Regions from separate parts of the Homo sapiens genome. Here regions 1, 2, 3 and 5 are each linked to region 4. Evidence: promoter capture Hi-C in 16 types of primary human blood cells and fetal thymus (Javierre and others, 2016). All regions are on one chromosome and are shown on one strand. The core of a region is centred on a gene start or on the middle of the fragment in contact, and the rest is flanking DNA. Distances in the headings are between cores, read along the strand shown. Region 1 overlaps ITPRID2 (ITPR interacting domain containing 2). Region 2 overlaps DNAJC10 (DnaJ heat shock protein family (Hsp40) member C10). Region 3 has its middle 33 kb from the start of PPP1R1C. Region 4 holds the start of PRKRA (protein activator of interferon induced protein kinase EIF2AK2). Region 5 holds the start of OLA1 (Obg like ATPase 1).

Region 1 (2,700 bases), core at 1-2,500, 3.4 Mb before region 4:
TTCTCAACCCCTTCCATCAAAAAAGAAAACAGAATTAGAAGAAAACAAATCTTCAGTCATAGGTAACTTAACCTTAATAAAATTAAAAAGTGAAGAGTAGTTGGAAATGAGGCCCAATAGTTTCCTTAAACCTCATCTGTTAATCTATCACTAGCATTTCAGAGCATCACCTAATGCCTCCCCCTTGCCCCAACAACTATCTTTTTATGTAAATGTAGAAGCTTGAGATTCGCTTTGTTTTTAAGCTAAAAAATATATATATTCTTCATTTAACTTTGAAAATTACTAAAAAGTTGACTTGAGAATCAACATTAAGATTAGCCATTGCTAAAATTTTTTCATTCTTGTAGTTCAAATACAGATGAGAGAAATATCTTTTTTTCAAATACAAAAATAAACACTTTTAATTCTCTGAAACCAAGTTATAGTAAGAAACACATTGTTTTATATTGGAGGGTCTGTTTTGTGATGCACACCTTTCTTCAGTAACAATTTATAGCTGTTAAAAATTCACGAGACATGGGATCAATCATGAAAATATCAGTTTCAAGGAAATGTTACTGAAATGCCAATTAAAGGTTAAAACTTTCTACAAGTATACTAACAATGGCAGCTCTTTAAAACTTAGTGCTTTTGAAACGTAAAAGAATCACAAGCAATTACCATAAATATATTAATAAAAGCTTTAATCTATTTTTTGCATATATTTTAATAAAATTCTAATGTATGTCTTTAAAAAGTCATCCTTCCCTGATGGCTACTTTCTTGGATGTAAACATTGTATTACTCTGTCCACAGATGTCTCTACTGGTCTATGCACTAACAGAAAATGGTAGATAAGCAGAGTAACAGGAATCCTCCTTCGAAAACAAATATCTTACTTTTATAGTTGCTCCCTTCCAAATTCTATCAAAATCTCTACCATTTCTTAAATGTTAATTCAAGCAGTTTTTACTTAGTCCCCCCACAAATGGTTATCAAAATAAAGACTCCCTTTAAGGAAAGAAAACACGGTATCTTTATTCAGGATATGGACGGCACTAAGAAACAAAGACTATTTGAGAACTTATCAAGTGGGTAAAATGCTGTCTTCAGGTCATTTGTACATAATAAACAAAATACATAGATGCCCAACTCTGAGAAGGAACTTGAGTTGTTATTTAAAACAAAAATACAGATGCAACATATCCTAAGTCGAATCTGTGATAATATAGCCAAGATTAAAAGACTACTTGTTCTAGCTTTCCTGGATACAAATGAATGCCACTCTTGTGTAGAATAGGTGCAACTGTAGGAACAAGAAGGTAATCCATGAGAGAAGGAGCAGCAGACTACAGAATCTGCCCACATAAATCAGTATTGGCAACAAAACTTCTGAAATTGTCAGGGATTGACTGTGCCCTGGTGAATGTCAACATTTGCCTACTGCATTTGTCTCAAAAAAGATGCACTTATTTACTGTCTAATTGATAGGATCTCTTATACAATCTTAAATCCTATATGTCATTAAACTATAGTGTGATTCTTCTCTTGTTCTTAATTTTTAAAATTCTTTTGAATATGCACTTGAATTTAAACAATAAAACATTATAAATGTATTTGTAATGCTAAGCCTATTTTAAGAAACCTAAAGTAAGCCAATACTGTACTTAGGACTGTATTTAAATAAAGAGTCAGATTGGAGGCTTTAAAGGACTTAAGTAAAAGTTACAAAACAACTTCTCAAACACATTTCTAAGTGGAAACCTGAAAGATACTAGTTTTATCAGATCTCACCCAAAAGGTCTTGAACATGTACATTCAAAATTTCAAGCTTTTACATTATAGACTATTTTAGTATTTAACAATTAAATGAACCAATAGCACATTAATACAATTTCTTGATCCATACTTTGAGTGAAGTATCTAATATCTAAGGCTTATCTGAAAACTGGGAGATTGATTTACAGCTAGATTGTAAATCTGGGGTCCAAGGACTTCAAGCAGTGTATTTGCCTCTGTGCATCTTTAAACAGAAGTTATTCCATATATGTCATCATATTTCAGAAGGGTCTATGACACTTCCAATAAAGGGTACGAGTTCTGTAATAAAGAGTGTTCAATAAGGTTCCAGTCGATTCATCAAAACAAGGCATTAATATCATGGTAGCCAATATCTTGTCTGTCTTTAGAGGAGGCAAACTGGCATATGAATCACTTTCCACAACAAAACAAAACAAACTACCCTAACTCTAATATTTGAACAAAATATTAAGAAAATCTAAATTGAGAAAGCAAAAATATGCTCGAAAGCAAACACCAACAAAAGTTTAAAGGCTACATTCCTGATTTTACAACTAGCAAAGTGGAATAAGAAACAAGTACATTTTGCTGTAGTCAGATTTACGTGCAACATGATTCATCTCCTCTGTATTTTATCAAACATTTTTGTACCAGTTGCCAAAGCATGTAATTAAACAGATTTATGCAGTCTGAATGCTTTTAAAAGTTCTATTCCCTGAGAATTCCAGTGCCATCTGACAATTCCATGTTCAAGAAGTAAACTATAAGTACAAAGTTAGCTAGTTTTAATAGCTCCCCAAACAGAAACAAAATTAAAGCCCATTTAGTGTAGTTAGGTAAATTAAACTCGTCTAAAACACATTTGAAAGGAAAATGATTCCGTGCCAGTTGTACAGATGCCAAAACTAAAGCAAAACA
Region 2 (2,700 bases), core at 29-2,528, 4.3 Mb before region 4:
GAAGTTGAAATTACTCCTTGATTTACGGGCTGCAGAATGGATATGGTGTTAGCAGGCATGAAAAAAAAGTCCCAGATAGCATCTTCTTCCAATGGAAGGCTGTCTCATTAACATTGAGAATTTGTTGTTTAGTATAGCCACCTTCATCAATGATCTTAGCTAGATCTTCTGGAAAACTTGCTGCAGCTTCTATGTCGGGACTTGCTGCTTCATCTTGTATTTTGATGTTATGGAGATGGCTGTTTTCTTTAAACCTCATGAACCAACCTTTTCTAGCTTCAAACTTTTTTCTGCAGCTTCTTCATCTCTCTAAGCCTCCATAAAATTGAAAAGAATTAGGGTCTTTCTCTGGTTAGGCTTTCGCTAAGGGGATGTTGTAGATAATTTGATCTACCCAGACCACTAAGACATTCTCTATGTTAGCAGTATGGCTGTTTTGTGTTATCATTAGTGTGTTCACTGGAGTAGCACGTTTACTTTCCATGAAGAACTTTTCCTTTGCATTTATAATTTAACTAGCAAAAGAGGTCTACCTTTTAGCCTGTCTTGGGTTTTGATATGCCTCCCTCACTAAGCTTAATCATTTCTAGCTTCTGATTTAAAATGAGAGATGTGCATCTCTTCCACTTCAACACTTAAGAGGTCACTGTAGTTATTAATTGGCTTAATTTCAGTAATGTTGTATCTCAGGGAGTAGGGAGGCCCAAGAAGTGGGAGAGAAAAGGGAGAAGGAAGAGGGAGCAGTCAGAATAGACACAAAAATTAAGTATGCCATCCTATGGGCACACTCCAAAATGATTACAATAGTAACATCAAAGATCACTGACTGTAGATCACTGTAACAGACAGAATAATAATGAAAAAGTTTGGATACCAAAATGTGAGAAAGAGACATGAAATGAGCACATGCTATTGGAAACACGTTCAGCTGATAGACTCGCTTGATGTAGGGTTGCTAAAAACCTTCAATTTGTTAAGGAAAAAAAAGTGCATTATCTATGAAGTGCAATAAATCAAAGTGTAATAAAATGAGGTACACCTGTACTTTGTCTTCATCGAGCACTTCTCATATTTGCCAAGTTCCCACTGATTGCTGAGTAATAAGAATAAAGTTAAAATATTTTAAATACTGTATCATCACAGCTCAATGGGATGTTGTGCCTAACAGTGACCCAGAATAGAATTATTACATTTCAAAATGCAACTTTCCACTTCTAAACTATACAACTACAGCTACTGTCTGTTAATATACATACAACTCCAGTTAACAGCTTCTATTAGCAAAGTAAAATGTAATTACTTTGCCTGTAAGGTACAGATTAACTTTTTCCCCACAGGTCTATCTTATACTTGAAATGTAGGTGAACACTGAGTCCTGTACCTGTTTCTAATTAGCCTGAATTAGTTGCACGTATTTAGAATACCATGCATGTTTTAATGTCTTACTGTAATTTCTGAAATTTTTATTTTAAAATATTAACTAATTTTAACATGGAATCATATGGAAATCCTTTAACCAAAAGCAGATTACCCTCGCCTTTTTATCTTGAATGTGAAAGCACATTTTTACAATGTTAAATTTTTTAAGTGAGTAAAATTTGTAATTTGCATCAGGTCATTTTACAGATAAAATATAAACTGCACTATTGGCTAGATATCACATGTTCAAATCTATAATTTTAGCAAGTATGTATTAATGTTTTGAATTGTTAAAAAAAAGTCAATCTTTTCAAATAAAGTGATTTTCCAAGGTAATGTCTTATTTAGGGCTTATATTAAATTTAATCCCCGCAATCCTTACTGTATTATGTAGGTCTCTTATTTTATTCTTTCAGAGTTTACAGTAGCTGTCAGAATTGATTAAACCTACTTAACCTATGCTGCATATAATAGAAGAGCTTAGAAGGCATTTGCTTGTTGACTTTCTAGAGAGCCAGAAATGATAACATCTGCTTAGCAGAAAAATGCCTGGGAAAGCTTCACTAGAGGGTCCTTCTCTATCACAACAATGCTCCTGCTCATTCCTCTCATCAAGCAAGGTTAATTATTTATGAATTATCTCTGAAGTTTTGTGGCTGCAATTTATCTTGAACTACCATTTGGGGTTCTATATGAACTATTAACAGTTCTTAAGCTTTTCTGCATAGTGACACATCTGAAAAAGTGTGAACCCATATACAATATAACTATCAGTGAAGTCTCATTCTAGGTAGACTCATGGATTAGTAAGCTTGCAAGTTTTGTTCAGTTCCTCTATCTGTAATTCCGATGTTTTCTGAACCATTGGTACACAAAACACTTACTGATATATTAGGAGATGAGAGACAATAAAAACCACACAGGAACAGCTATAGGTTTATATAACTCACACGAGAGTTATGATTCTACCAGCTTGTGACATGAGCATTAATTCTATTAACAATCCAAATGAATCAAATTGTCTTATTTGCAGAACACAGGAAAGATGTATTTTCTATTCACTTAGAACATGTTCAAGTGTTCACCTAGAAGGCTTTTAACAAAGTAACACATTGAACAGCTATTTTGTATGTGAAGCTCACCAGCATGATGTAGAAAATAAGATTAAAATGCCACCCTTGGCCAGATGTGGTGGCTCATGCCTGTAATCCTGGCACTTTGGGAGGCCAACGTGGGTGGATCGCCTGAGGTCAGGAGTTCGAGATCAGCCTGGCCAACATG
Region 3 (2,700 bases), core at 20-2,519, 3.5 Mb before region 4:
GACTTCACTGCTGGAGGGGGTCGGGGGAATGTATGTGGAGGTCGGGGTGGTGGGGTGGGGTGTGTGTGTGTGCGCGCGCGCGGGGTGTGTGTGTGTGTGTGTGTGTGTGTGTGTGTGGCGGGAGGCGGTTAGCGGGTAGTGGGGCGCGGGGGGAGGGGTCCCTGCCTGGCCACCTGAATTCAGTTTGTAAACCACAGCTGTAGATCACACATACATTAGGTGAAGTTTGCAGAAGAACTGGGCTTGGTAGAATTTGAAAACGGATGAAAGACATTCCATGGAGGTGCCTTTCTCTCATTTGAGAAACACCAGAAAGTTATCTGGTTCTAATAAAAAAGTCTATTGGTGTCCTTTAAATCTAATTACTATGGTGCTTGCCCCAATGAAGAGGGAAAAGAGCTGTCTCTTCTACTCACACATAGGAAGCCTTTGTCAAGCTTTAGCTATCTCCCTTCAGACAAAAGCCTCCAAAATTACAAAACCACTAAGTTGTTTTGTTTGACTTAATCTTTTCCTGTTTTGTTGTCTATGAATCCTTCTCCAACCCACACAGTCTTAAAGATAACAATATGAATAAAATTCATTTCTGCTTGCATCTGAATCACACCAAAAGAAATACACAGATTTTTGTACATACAGTAACTTTGTCTGGGACAGTCAGACTTATAAGAATAAATGAAATTTGTTTCCTGGAACATTGAAGAGATACCCAGAAGAAATAGGCAGTCTTCTGACCAACAGGTACTAAACTTTGCTAGTAAATCTGTGTGCTTGCCAGTTGGATGAGAGCAGTTGCATGTATTAGGATGCTCTGGACAGAAGAAATAATGGTTTTAAATGAATCTGCTGGTGAGAAGTTATAAGAGTAGAATCCTTATTTTTATTGGTTTGAAGTTACAAGAATAGAATCCTCGTTTTTGTGTGTTTGTTTGTTTTTGAGAGAGCCTCTCACCCTGTCACCCAGCCTGGAGTACAGTGGTGCGATCACAGCTCACTTCCGCCTTGACCTCCCAGGCTCAAGCAATCCCTCAAGCAATCCTCATGCCTCAGCCACCTGAGTAGCTGGGACTACAGGTGGGCAACACCACGCCTAGCTAAATTTTTAATTTTTTTGTAAAGACGGGGTCTTGCTATATTGACCAGGATGGTTTCAAATTCCTGGCCCCAAGCAATCCTCCTACCCCAGCCTCCCAAAGTGCTGGGATTACAAGCATGAGCCATCACACCTGGCAAGAGTAGAATCCTTTAAATTGCAGGTATTGATTTGCTGTGGAACTCTTTCTCCTGCAGGCAACTCCATGAGGCATGTATTTGGGAGAAGAACAGCAGGAATTTATTATTTATTTATTTATTTATTTATTTATTTATTTATTTATTATCAGTGATTAGTCTCCTAAGCCATACCAGGAATGCCAGAGAGTTTCTAATGAGAGTAAAAGACTTTGCTCAGAGATAAGTGCTTTTTTTCCAGAACTATAAGTGGAGTGTCTGCTAAGTGCCAGGCACTGTCTAGGTTAAGGGGAGGATCAGGGGCCATGTTAGGGGCTGAACTAGGATGACTCTTGCTGTCACTGAACTTAGCCTGGTGGTTAAGAACAACAGAGATTTTTACATCTCAGAGGAAACAAAGATATCAGGGAAATTCGCTTTACTCTCTTACCTTAATTTACTCTTTTTAAATGAGAGGGTTGGAATACATGATCTCTAAGCCCTAGTGCTCTGATTCTAGCACCATACAAAGTTCACTTCAAAGTCAGTGAAAGAGTTGCAGCAACATAAATAGACCTCAGGGTATAAACACTATGTAATCCAAAGGGAAAATAAAGATGACAGACTACATGTTTTAAAATAAACTCACTGTGGTTTTTAATTCTCATTTCCAACCTTGAGTTTTATGAGTATTGATTTCCTAAGAAAAGAAAGCCTACAACTGCTACCTTCCTTAAGTACCTTTATATTCATTTTAAATAAGGCCATTAAAAATTTCAGGCCTAGTATATATAACTTTCAGTTTAAATGTTCTCTTACCCTCACTTAAAGGACCTTTTTATGTAACTAAAATGTAAAGGTTTAATTTTGGACACATACAAAATTAAGCTTGACATCTACTGAGCATTTATAAGAATACCTTTTTTTGCTGTAAAGTCCTTCAAACAGTGATATAACATGTCATTGACAACACAATGGGGTGGGCAAACTGAGGAACAGAGACATGACATTTGTAATTTGCTTAAGGTCACACAGTTATTTTATAATTGTGTATCATATTCATCTTATTTTATTTATCCTCCACTGTGGTACTATGGAGTAATTTTTTTGCTCTACAGACAAGGAAATTGAGTTTCAGAAATAGTATATTCTTATAGTAGTAATGGATTTGAAACTAGGTCCACCTCTCTAAAAAATTCTTGCAGTTTTTCCCTATACCAAGTGAGATGTTAGCACATAATCTCTGCTTTCCAAATCATATGAAAAGTATATCTTCCTTTTTTTCTCAAAGAATAAGAGGCAGTTGCAGAAGAGGGAGTAAGGTAAAAAGTAAAGAATTACCATTCTATTGCCCCACAGTGTTTCCAGACTTCTCTTTCCCTAACCCTTCCTCGACCTTATACGTATCCAGATTAGACTACCACAGTTTGTAGACTACACCCTATCCAGCCTCAGTTTCTTAGTTTAGTCACTTCTGTCCTAGAATTATTT
Region 4 (2,700 bases), core at 177-2,676:
AAGTAATTTTGTGGCAAAAAATGAATTTTACCTGAGTGCTGAAATGTTTTGCCATAGGTGTTATGCGGAGTTCATATATTGTGAAATACTGACTATGTAGCCCTTCCAATAAGATATCCATTAAAACAGTGATGGATAGTAATCTATATACATACATATATAGACGGAGAGGAAGAGAGAATAGGCTCTAATTAAAGCATCAGATGATATAATTTGATTAGATTCTGAACATCTTTCACTTGTTTCAAGCATCCAGGGCTTACATGCTAACAAAACAACAAATCGCTTTTTTTTTTTTTTTTTTTTTTGAGAGGGAGTCTGACTCTGTCGCCCAGGCTGGAGTGCAGTGGCGCGATCTCGGCTCACTGCAACATTTGCCTCCCGGGTTCAAGCGATTCTCCTGCTTTAGCCTCCCGAGTAGCTGGGATTACAGGCGCATGCCACCACGCCCGGCTAATTTTTGTATTTTTAGTAGAGACAGGGTTTCACCATGTTGGCCAGGCTGGTCTCGAACTGCTTACTTCAGGCGATCCGCCAGCCTCGGCCTCCTAAAGTGCTGGGATTACAGGCGTGAGCCACCGCGCCCGCCCATAAATCACTTTTAATAATATCCTTTCGTACGAATAGCATTGTGCAAGCAATCTTCCATAACACCGAGTAAGCACAGGGGAGCATTTCTGCTAGTGCCTAGCAAGCCCCTGGAGAAGCGACACGTCATCTAATGGCCCACCAAAGGTGCTGCATCCCAGGCAAACGCCATTACAACCGACTACCCAGGTCCCCGGAAAGGCCTTCGTTTACTCCTAACGTGTTTTGCTGGGATGCACTGACCCAGCGTTCCATCTCGCGACGAAAGCCCAGAAGACAAAGGAGCCCGCCCGGCGGGAGAGGAGCGGGTGTTTGGACGTCCCCGCGTGTTCCTAAACACAGGGCTCGGGGACCCGAAGAGCGCACCGCAGCCCCCTGGAGCGTATATATCCGGGGTCTCAAGCTTCAGGACCAGGCCCGGGAGACTCCCTGGAATTCTGCCTTCGTAATTTTAGAATCTTTTTCTTAAAGTGACCCAGCCCCCAATCCGTCCTCCCCACAAAGGCTTAACTTTAGGCCTCAACGACCCTAGACCCACGCCGGACAATCCCTCTAATCCCTCTCTCCCGGCAAGAAACGGCCTCCTGCTAAGGACAAAGAACTGCGGCCTAGGGGCCAGTTACTACAGGCTGGTCAGGGCCGGCAGGGGCGGGCGCGGAGAACCCCCGGGAGCCCAATGCCTGTGCCCACGCGGGAGCGGGGCGGAGCCGGGCGGGAAGGGGGCGGACCCTGGAAGGGACAGGGGCGGAGTTGGGCCGGGACGGAGGCCCGCAGAGGAGCAGCGAGGGGGCGTAGCCGGAGCTACGGCACCAAGGCTCCGCCCCCACCCTGCCTGCCCCCTCGCTGGAGCAACGCAAGCAGGAGGCGGGGGAGTCGGAGGAGGTGGCGGCGCTGGAGCTCCTCCCGGGGACCAGCGACCCGGGGAGCGAGCACGTCGCTCCGCACCGCTCTTCCTCCAGCCGCTGAGCCGTCCCTTCTCGCCATGTCCCAGAGCAGGCACCGCGCCGAGGCCCCGCCGCTGGAGCGCGAGGACAGTGGGACCTTCAGGTCAGCGTGCGGGCAGTCAGGGCCCCAGGGCCGGGAGCGTTGGGCGGCAGGGCCGGGGCGCGGGGAGCCGGCCCTCCAGAGGCATTCTGGGTAAAGCCGTGCCCGGCGCCCACGCCTCCGCGGCTGTGGGTGCTCGGCCCCGCCCTCTCGGCGGCGAGGGTTGGGGTCTGCGGCCGGGCCCCGCCCCTCTCGTGGTCCCTGGCGGCGCGCGGGGCGGGCGGAGGTGACGCTCGGTCGGCGCGCCCGGGAAGGGATCGTCAGGTTTTCCCTGAGAGGCTGCGGCGCTGCTGCCAGCCCTGTTCTGTTGAGAATCTCTCCTACCCGCATTCAAGTGCTCTCTCTAAAGACCTCGCTCACCCCGCCTGCTCCTGCGGAGTGACTGCCGCAGCGGGGCCGGAAGACAGGTGCGCCCCAGCCTCGCCAGCTCTGGCCCTGGCCTCCGGGGAACTCGGCGCCTCCCTCGTCACCGTCGGTGGCGGTTAAAACTGGCCTCTACGCTTCTGCTTCAATCTCCAATTTGGCATGCAAAGCACACCTTTTTGTGGTTTTTGCAGTTTGGGGAAGATGATAACAGCTAAGCCAGGGAAAACACCGATTCAGGTATTACACGAATACGGCATGAAGACCAAGAACATCCCAGTTTATGAATGTGAAAGATCTGATGTGCAAATACACGTGCCCACTTTCACCTTCAGAGTAACCGTTGGTGACATAACCTGCACAGGTCTGTATACACAGTTAACCTGGATGACCGAGTGGGTTGGCAGTCAATACTTGGTGTTGCTTTTCAGTTCGGAAAAGTTCTCTTTTTGCCAGACAGCTGTGAGGAACAGGCTCTGAAACTGAGACCTCTCATCTCAGGTCGTTAGGGCTTTTCAGCTGCATCTGATTCTCTTCCTAATTTTCTCTTCCCCACATACCAAGGAAGCTTAGAAACTAAAAAGTTACCCAGCCGGATGGCTGGATCCTGCATGGCTCTTCTCATACCCTAGGATCCTCCTAGGGTTCTTCTTAGAATTAGAGGGAAGCAGGAAAGGTTCTTGGAGCAGTCATAGCTGGGTCAGT
Region 5 (2,700 bases), core at 72-2,571, 4.2 Mb after region 4:
AGGCTGTTCTCCAACTCCTAGGCTCAACTGATCCCCCTATCTTGGCCTCCCAAAGTGCTGGGATTACGGCCAGATTTTCAGTTAGATTGTGGTTTGAAATATGCTGCTGCCATTTACTAGTTGTGTGACTTCATCCAAATTAATCAACCTTTCTGATATTGTTTCCTCACTTGTAAAATGGGGATGGCGACCTATTTACATCCTTTAATATTAATAGCAACTAATCCCTTTAAAAGGAGCTTCTAGTGTCACAATTTTTGGACAGGTATCATATTCATTACAACAAATACCTGAATGACATCTGAAGGCCAGGACCTAAATGAAAGAATTCCTTCTCCAGTGGCGCTCATGGTATTGATATGATGTGGGTGAGATGGGATGAAATCCTAATATTAACAACAGCGACTACTCACAAGCCTTTTCTGTATGTGCTGAGTACTGTTGTTATGAGCTCAACACGCATTGTCTCATTTTATTCTCACACGAATAACCTCATAAGGTGGTTTTAATAGCCTCATTTTATCCAGAACGAAATTGAAGTCCAGAGAAGTTAATTTGTCTAGGGTCATACAGTCAATGAGTGGCGAAATCCAGATTGGAAATTCCCAAATTTCAAAGGCCCCTGCTCTCAACTACCAAGAGGAAAAGGGGGGAAATTGGCTCAATTAAACGCATTCTGTGATCCAGTACCTGTGTGCGACGCTTTAACTATAAGGCGAGGAAGAAATCCCTAGACCAAAGTTTCCCTTAGCCCCTTTTCCTTCAAGAACTTTTAGTTAACAGCTTCTCTCCGCACAGACTGAGCGAATAAAGTTATAGAAAAGGGAGATGGGCTAGCGGCCACGCGGTCCTCGGGGCTGGTGTGGCTGTTTGCCTGACTTCAGACGCCCCGGATCTCCCGGAGGGAAGTCAGGGCCCAAGGCACTCCGCAGTCCAGCTGGGAAAGCTTGGGGCTGTAGGCCCGCGAGTGAACGTGAGCAGGTAACCCAGGCCGCGCAGCCAGACGGAAGCGGAGACCTAGAACCGAGAAGCCCACGTGCCGAAGCGGAAGACTAGAGCTCCCGGGAACGGCCTAGCCAGCGCCTTCCCCTCTCCAGCTCCCTGCCGCCGCGCGGCTCCTCCCACCCTGGGCTCCTCCCGCCCTACTCCCGCCTCCCCGGCCGGTTAGGCCAATGGGCGGGACGCGCGGGCAAGGCGGGGAGGGGCGGGGCCCATGGTCTGCGCGCAGGTGCCGCTCGGCGCCCGGCCCGCCCGTTCCGCCGCTGTCGCCGCCGTCGTGCGTGCCGCTCGGCGGAGGGGACGGGCCTGCGTTCTCTCCTCCTTCCTCCCCGCCTCCAGCTGCCGGCAGGACCTTTCTCTCGCTGCCGCTGGGACCCCGTGTCATCGCCCAGGCCGAGCACGGTGAGGCCCTCAGGGAGCCCGGGGGCGCGATCTCCGCCAGGTCTTCGGCGCCTGGGCTCATTGCCCTGAGGCTGGCGCGGGGCCCGGGCCCAGTGGCCAAGATGGGGCCAGGGCAGCGGGTGGCTTGGGGATGTGTGGATGAATGAGGCGCTGTCGGACTAGGCCGCGCGTCGGGAGATCGGCCTACGCCTCACGCGGGAAAGCCCTGGGGAAAGCCTTCTCCCGACGCCAGGACGCCCGGTGGCCCAGTCCGGAGAGGAGGATGGGGGGTGGGGCCCACTTTGGGTGGGCTGCCGGCCACCTCTCTGTAGGCCAGAGGACCCGACAGGCGCTGTTCCTGTATCTGTTCTTTGGAGGCCTGGGAGTTGGCCAGGAACAGGTGTCAGGACGCTGAGAAGGGAAATTCCTGGCCCTCGGGGTCAGGGATCAGAGGCTGGAATACTACTGCAAGGGCAGGGCCCCAGCGTGGTCCTAGGAGGTACAACTCTCAGCCAGAAGACTGGGACAGTTTTAGTTCCCAGCTTCTGAGACGTGAGCTTAGCGGTCTTTGTGATTTCACTTTGCAGTCCAAGGGTGGGAGTAATTCTGCACGCATGATTTGGAGACAGAACTAGTAAGGGACAGAGAAAGTTTCGACTTGTAAATAAAAAGGTTCCGTCGATTAATTTACCATTAGAAATAGTAACCATAATGTAGATTTTGGAGGTTGCTTATGAGGACTGATGAGCCGTACCTTCAGTGCCAAAGGTGGGAGGGACTTGGTGGAAGGACCCCAGTACCTGGTGGGTGTTCATCTATGTGAAAAATGGGGGTTGTGGGCGAATGGGAAAGATAAGATTCCAGATTATAGAGGAATGGTTTGGTGTGAAGGGTGACTTGGCTGCTGGTGGTTCCACAATGGAATTTTCTTTGACTGTCTTCTGTGTACTTGCTTCCAAATGCTTTCTTTCATATAACCATATATCAGGTTAAGATATAAAGTGTTTTGTGAGCAGTCTGGATGGAAGATTGGTAGCTAAACTCTAAGTTTATCTTTGATTCCTGGTGCCACAAATATTTTATTTATTTATTTATTTATTTAAGACAGAGCCTAGCTTTGTCGCTCAGGCAGAGCCCAGTGGCGTGATCTTGGCGCACCGCAACCTTCGCCTCCCGAGTTCAAGCAGTTCTCGAGCCTCAGCCTCCCGAGTAGCTGGAATTACAGGCTGCGCGCCTGATGGCCGGCTAATTTTTTTGTATTTGTTTTTCTTTTTAGTAGAGACGGGGTTTCTCCGTGTTGGCCAGGCTGGTCTCGACTCC

The links. Contacts are between HindIII fragments. The CHiCAGO score rates a contact against its expected background, and 5 or more counts as called.
Region 1: a fragment that was not itself captured here is called in contact with the fragment with the promoter of PRKRA in region 4 in 3 of 17 cell types (fetal thymus, non-activated CD4 T cells and total CD4 T cells); the score reaches 9.2 in fetal thymus.
Region 2: a fragment that was not itself captured here is called in contact with the fragment with the promoter of PRKRA in region 4 in 1 of 17 cell types (total B cells); the score reaches 5.0 in total B cells.
Region 3: a contact is called between a fragment that was not itself captured here and the fragment with the promoter of PRKRA in region 4, in 1 of 17 cell types (fetal thymus). The highest score is 12.5, in fetal thymus.
Region 5: the fragment with the promoter of OLA1 here is called in contact with the fragment with the promoter of PRKRA in region 4 in 1 of 17 cell types (total CD4 T cells); the score reaches 5.4 in total CD4 T cells.

What each region holds. Positions count from the first base shown.
Region 1 is chr2:181,892,993-181,895,692 of GRCh38, reverse strand. All of the region lies in intron 2 of ITPRID2 (ITPR interacting domain containing 2), which reads right to left. Among named protein-coding and RNA genes, the nearest start is that of ITPRID2, 2.6 kb to the right of the region's middle. The HindIII fragment of the contact is 1,130 bases long and covers 686-1,815 here.
Region 2 is chr2:182,723,245-182,725,944 of GRCh38, reverse strand. The region is part of intron 5 of DNAJC10 (DnaJ heat shock protein family (Hsp40) member C10); the gene reads right to left. Among named protein-coding and RNA genes, the nearest start is that of DNAJC10, 8.3 kb to the right of the region's middle. The HindIII fragment of the contact is 1,402 bases long and covers 578-1,979 here.
Region 3 is chr2:181,951,681-181,954,380 of GRCh38, reverse strand. No RefSeq gene overlaps it. Among named protein-coding and RNA genes, the nearest start is that of PPP1R1C, 33 kb to the left of the region's middle. The HindIII fragment of the contact is 1,660 bases long and covers 440-2,099 here.
Region 4 is chr2:178,449,901-178,452,600 of GRCh38, reverse strand. PRKRA (protein activator of interferon induced protein kinase EIF2AK2) reads left to right here and starts at 1,426. Exons shown (of 8, transcript NM_003690.5): 1 at 1,426-1,635; 2 at 2,190-2,359. The coding sequence starts at 1,571. PJVK (pejvakin) reads right to left here and starts at 1,223. Exons shown (of 7, transcript NM_001042702.5): 1 at 832-1,223. RefSeq lists a silencer at 1,154-1,933 and an enhancer at 1,696-2,270. The HindIII fragment of the contact is 1,572 bases long and covers 994-2,565 here.
Region 5 is chr2:174,247,153-174,249,852 of GRCh38, reverse strand. It overlaps OLA1 (Obg like ATPase 1), which reads left to right and starts at 1,321. Exons shown (of 11, transcript NM_013341.5): 1 at 1,321-1,401. RefSeq lists a silencer at 1,016-1,535. The HindIII fragment of the contact is 2,463 bases long and covers 949-2,700 here.